2 separate regions of the Homo sapiens genome follow, and region 2 is linked to region 1. The links are contacts of gene promoters, found by promoter capture Hi-C in human tissues and cell types (Jung and others, 2019). All regions are on one chromosome and are shown on one strand. Each heading gives the region's core, a stretch centred on a gene start or on the middle of the fragment in contact. The rest is flanking DNA. Distances are from core to core; before and after follow the strand shown. Region 1 holds the start of ACTR1B (actin related protein 1B). Region 2 has its middle 14 kb from the start of INPP4A.

What was found. The method cuts DNA at HindIII sites, captures the fragments that hold promoters and counts their contacts. A contact is called where the count stands out against the background at its distance.
Region 2: a contact is called between a fragment that was not itself captured here and the fragment with the promoter of ACTR1B in region 1, in 1 of the 25 tissues and cell types used here (hippocampus).

The regions. Positions count from the first base shown.
Region 1 is chr2:97,662,528-97,665,389 of GRCh38, forward strand. It overlaps ACTR1B (actin related protein 1B), which reads right to left and starts at 1,517. Exons shown (of 11, transcript NM_005735.4): 1 at 1,316-1,517. The coding sequence starts at 1,363. LOC124900516 (U4 spliceosomal RNA) reads right to left here and starts at 2,204; the gene lies at 2,064-2,204. It also overlaps a transcript of C2orf92 not described here and the pseudogene RNU4-8P. RefSeq lists enhancers at 1-620, 586-655, 1,696-2,035 and silencers at 1,016-1,075, 1,156-1,615. The HindIII fragment of the contact is 10,185 bases long and covers 1-2,862 here.
Region 2 is chr2:98,429,730-98,432,591 of GRCh38, forward strand. No RefSeq gene overlaps it. Among named protein-coding and RNA genes, the nearest start is that of INPP4A, 14 kb to the right of the region's middle. The HindIII fragment of the contact is 4,356 bases long and covers 1-2,862 here.

The DNA of each region.
Region 1 (2,862 bases), core at 267-2,766:
AAGTGGCTTCCCAGAGACTACTAGGAGAACTTGGTCCTATCGCTGCCCCCACCTGGAAGCTGGACTTAAGGATCCCCCAAAGAACGGGGCAATTAGAAACCTCCCACCCAGCGAAGGGATAAGCTTCTCAACTCAGTCCCACCACTCTTCATCGCAACCCTCTGAGTCTGCAGCAGAAACAAACATCTCCAAGTTACAGAGGAGGGGATGGAATCCCCAAGGGGCCGAGCGGTAGCCCTTTTAACTTATAAGCCTGTTGATTAGCCTATACGAGTTATTTGCACGTCAAGAAAGGAAGTAGCCTGCTCCTTCCTGCAGCGTCCTGCTGGTGTGACAGCACGTCCCCAAGCTCAGTGCTAACCTCCTTATTAAACATCCCCTGCTGTGACTCAGGGAACCCACATGGGTACTCTAAAACAGTCATTCAGGGACCCCACGGGGTCATGTGGGAGGGAGACAGATCCCAGAAAGAGCACAAGTGAGTCATTACCAAAAACTCCAAGGCCCGCACACCGGACGCACATACCCAGCTAGGGGCAGACTCAAAGATCCCAGCCCTTATCTTCTCCCCATATCAGAGCTCGGAAGCCAGAAATCTTCCTAAGGCAGGTGAAAGCAAGCCGAGCCCCACTGCTGAAGGACAAAGCCACAGGAAGCCTGATGACATCTTTCCTCTGAGGCTTCCAAACGATCACCCCAAATTGCTTGCTGATACTGGGAAGAGTGGCCATGAACTCTCCATTGCTCTGCTGGCTGTGGAATGTTTGCTCAGCACAGGAAGCATTTAAGGAGAAAGTCAAAGTAGCCAAAAGGCAAACCAGATGGTGGTGGACATGTGGGTGACAGAGCATCCTGCATTTGTTGCCTCGGGGTGCAGCCCCAAAGATAAAGCCAGCAGTGTGCAAATGACAAATGCTACCCCACCTCCGCCAGGCAGCCAGAGCCAGGGCCGAAGGACGCGGAAAGGAACTGGTGTGGAAACCTGCCCAGGAACCGCACTCTCAACTGAGAAGAGTCCGGGGCGCGTCCCCGCCCGGCCGCCCGGCTGTCACTCAAGCTCTCCTGAACTTCCCCGCCCGACTCGGGGAGGGGTCGGGGAAGAGGCTCTGCGACGCGGGCGAGGGGGCTCGCCCCATGGCCGGCCTTACAAGGCCAAGAGGGCGCGCGCCCCCGGGGCGAAGCCAGCGGCCCGGCGGGGGCGACGGCCACGCAGTGAGCGGAGGACGCGCCGAGGCGGGCGGGGGTCTCTCCCTGCGCCGCCGCGTGCGCCCCCGGGGGCGGGGCGCCCGCCCTCCCCCTGGCTGCCGGGCCTCACGTTGTCGATGACCACAGGCTGGTTGGCGATGATGTCGTAGGACTCCATGGCCGGGCCGCGCCGGCCCTGCCCAGCAGGCGGGCTGCAGGAGGCACCGGATGGGCGGGCGGGCGGGAGGACCGGGACGGCGGCGGCTCCCGACGCGGCGCCGCTGCCCTCCCTCCCCGAGCCTGCAGCCTACGCGAGCCCCGCGGGGCTTTCTGGAGGGCGGGCCCGGCGGCCAATCATCGCTCCCACCTGGCCCGATTGACAGCAGGTGCCCGGGGCTGGCTGCGCGAAGGGGGCGGGGCCTCCGGAGGCTGGCCAGCCAATTGAGGTCGTCCGGAAAAAAGTGGTCGCGGCGTTGCCAAGGTAGGCTGCGCAGTGTCTGGGATGATGTCATGGCTCCGTCTTAAAGGGGACGCGGGCGGCAGAAAGTGGAGCTGGGCTGGTGTGCGCGCGGCCGGAGTCTGTGGAGCTGGAAATTCACCGGTCCAGGAAGACGTCTTTCCCGCGTCCCAGCACCGGTCCAGAAAGACGTCTTTCCCGCGTCCCAGCACCTCGGGCCACGCTCCTTCGTGAGAGCGCCCTCTCCAAGGAGGCCGGCCCTGGATATTTCACCCAAAATATTTATTTTTTCTTTTTTTCTAGGTAAGGTGTCTTGCTCTGTCGCTCAGGCTGGAAATCTTGGGCTCAAGCGATCCTCCCGCGCCAGCCAGTAGGGGGGACTACAGGCGCGCACCATATTTATTTATTTTTACTGAAATAGTCTCCGTAGAGACTGTTAAAAATTGCCGATGTCGACTATATTGCAAGTCGTCACGGTGGGGTATTGCGAAAAGTTTTCAATTAGCAATAATCGCGCTTCGGATAAACCTCATTGGCCACCATACGGCCACCGCGCAACGCTAGCTAATTAAAAAAAATTTTTTTTGTAGAGAAGGGATCTCGCTATGTTCCCCGGGCTAGCCTCGAACTCCTGAGCTTAAGCGATCCTCCCGCTTAGTCTTTCCAAAGCGTTGGGATTACAGGCGTCAGCTATTGCGCACGGCCCCATAATATTTCCTCGTTGAGCACTGAAGAAAAGATCCTTTTCCTTATAAAAATTACAGTTTCGTGGTATTTTGGTCCTGGCATTTATTGAGCACCTGCTCTGTGCCTGCGGAGCACTTCTGCCCACTTTACATAAGTTATATTAAATCCTTGCAACAATATCAGGTAGTTGTATTATTACTCCCATTTTTCAGTCAGGGTCTTCACACTTTGGTAACCTGCCCAAGATTATTGGGTGTGGAATTGGCATGCAGGTAGCCCCCTGCGGCACTGGAGTCAGCTGCTTCAAGAGTGCAGGATAGTTGAGTTCTACATTTGTTTACCAAACGGATCCATAGTTATTTCCCTGTATATATACCTCTCCCAATGGGTTGTGAGCATAAAATTTGTAAAATTGAAGCGGGTGTGCAGAAATCACAAGTGTACATGTACATTTCAATGAATGATTAAAATGTGGACACACTTGCATAACCACCGAGTTCAAGAAACAATATTGTTGCTGGAAAAGGGGTCCC
Region 2 (2,862 bases), core at 219-2,718, 770 kb after region 1:
TGTGTGGTGGCCTGGGATTCAATCTGTGAGGTGGTGGGCCTGTTAGCAGGACTCCATCTCACTTTGCTGAGTTTTTTTTTTTTTTCTTTTTTTCCCCTTTTTGCCCAATAAAATCCTGCTCTACTCACCCTTCCATGTGTCCGCGTGCCTAAATTTTTCTGGTCGTGTGACAAGAATCCAGTTTTAGTTGAACTAAGGAGCAAAGTTCTGCAACATTTTGGCGCCCAGACGTGGGGCTTGAGGAGGGGTAAGATGTGAACCAAAAATTCTTTTTCCCTTTCACTTCTAAGCCTTTTTGTCCTCAGACTTCTTCTGAGGTAGAGGAAGCTGTGCAGGAGCCCACCCCAATGGCTGCAGGCTCGAGGGATGAATGGGCAAACGGGGACTCCCCTGCCTTGCTCCCGGCCAGGGCTAGGAACCCGTTTGTATAAGAATAAGAGGTTCTTCCCCCAGGCATCTTTCCAACTCTGCACTTTAAACTTTTTTTTTCCTTTTCTCTACACTGTCAGCAGTACACTTTTAAGTGAGAGGGGTTTTTTTTTTGTTTTTTTCTTCCTTTTCGAAGATGTTTTACTAGGCCAGGAATGAGAAGGATCACTGTTTATAGTCTCTGCAAAGTTTTGATTATGAAAAAGGATTTGTGAGGTTGGTCTTAAGGTGTAGCCAATCTGGTGTGCTTTGCACGCCTATGTGAATTGTCTGTAGCAAACTTTGCTGAAGGCTTCCATCTTGCTTTATGCCCTTGGAAGCTGGCCTGTAACCACGTGGCAATGCTTTGTTTAGCCTCTGCCATTTTACAGTGTAGCCGGGGTTCAATCCTGGCTTAGAGACTCAGTACTTTAAGGTTGATACCTGTGTGACTTTTGCCATTTGCTGACTCTCTTCTTCTCCATGAACAACGTCTAGGCTTTTTCTTAAATCTTCCTTTCTCTGGGTCATCTTTAAAGGTTCTAAATTTTGTGAGAACTGCTTACCCCGTTTGAAAATACCTCATATACTCACGGTTAAATCATAGTCTTAATTGAGGCTTGTTGGTTTCACCTGCAAGGTTACTTTCAGTAAGATTTGAAAGCCAGAAATATTGGCCACTTGGCAGGGCTAAAGTCAGGTAATAAGGGAGTTAAAGGGATTTTCTTAAAGAGTGCTCAGCTTAATTAAAAGTGGATATCCTAGTTATAGGTATATTTAAAAGGCCTTTATGTTTTTCTTTTCTTGGATCTTGTTTTGCTGGAAACGGGTTTTTTCTCAGTTGACTAAATTCTTTTTCTCCATTTTCTCTTGCTACTCTCATTATATATGCATCGTGTGTGTAATGTCTATAAAAAGACCTCTAATTAATTGGCCTAAAGGAAGATCAGTGCTTTGCCGAGACCAGCTCGGTCGGGGAGACCCTAACCCAGCAGCGCTAGAAGAATTAAAGACACACACAAAGAAATATAGAGGTGTGAAGTGGGAAATCAGGGGTCTCACAGCCTTCAGAGCTGAGAGCCCCGAACAAAGATTTACCCACATATTTATTAACAGCAAACCAGTCATTAGCATTGTTTCTATAGATATTAAATTAACTAAAAGTATCCCTTATGGGAAACGAAGGGATGGGCCAAATTAAAGGAATAGGTTGGGCTAGCTAACTGCAGCAGGAGCATGTCCTTAAGGCACAGATCACTCGTGCTATTGTTTGTCACTTAAGAATGCCTTTAAGCTGTTTTCCACCCTGGGCGGGCCAGGTGTTCCTTGCACTCATTCCCATAAACTCACGATCTTCCAGCATGGGCTTTATGGCCATCATGAACATGTCACAGTGCTGCAGAGATTTTGTTTATGGACAGTTTTGGGGCCAGTTTATGGCCAGATTTTGGGGGGCTTGTTCCCAACAGTGCTTGGATCAAATATTTTTTAAAGGGAAAATAAAAGCTGTGGTACCTTTTAGTTCACATGACTTTAATCTTTGAGAAATAAAAACAGCCTTAAAAATTATTGGTGAAATGCAGATGTCCTCAAAATGTAAATAGGTGAACTAAATTATGCAGGTCAGATACTAAGTTTGCTAAATGTTTTAAGGTTATAAACTGCCTTTTTGGTTTTTGAGAACTGTTTGACTTGCCTGCTTCACAATTGGTAAGGCCTGGGAACATATGGAATTAACCATGCCCTTAATTATGCTGGAAGCAGTCAAACCTTGGCTGCACCCAGCACATAATTAAATTACTAGGTTTTGCATTAAAGTTAAAAATCGCTAAGAATGACCATTATAACATGAAATTGAAAGTACTGGAAATAGATTTACATGTGAGGTGCATAAGAACAGTAAGATGTGTTTTTAGTAAAAGATTGTACAAAAGCATGGAAATGTAAATCCTTGCCTAGGGTTAAAGGATGATTTTTGAATTAGATAAGATAAAGCTGAAGGTTTAAACAAATAATGGAAGGATTGTAAAAATTAATCTTGCAAAAATTCCATGTGTGAATATATTGACTAAATTCAAAAGGGTATTATATGATTTTTCTGTAAATTGAGCATTGAAATAAAAGCACAGCAAGGTACTCTTAAGGCACTAATATTCTCTTTAGCAAAATTTGTTAGGGTTATAAAAGGTTTTTGTTTTTTAAACTTCTGAGTCATCATTTTGGCAAAATAAGTAACATGGTAATCTGGAATTCTATTTCATAACATCAAGTGTTTTAAACTTCTAACATATTTTAACAGACTTCCTAAAATCAAACTTCAGTTTCAAAATTGTCTTTCCTGATGCCTGACATTTGGATGCTACAGAGGGCCCCTGGAGTATCCAAAAGAGAGGTAAACAGGATTATTTGACATATTTAGTTACATGGGATTGCCAAAATGGTGTTCAATCTTCT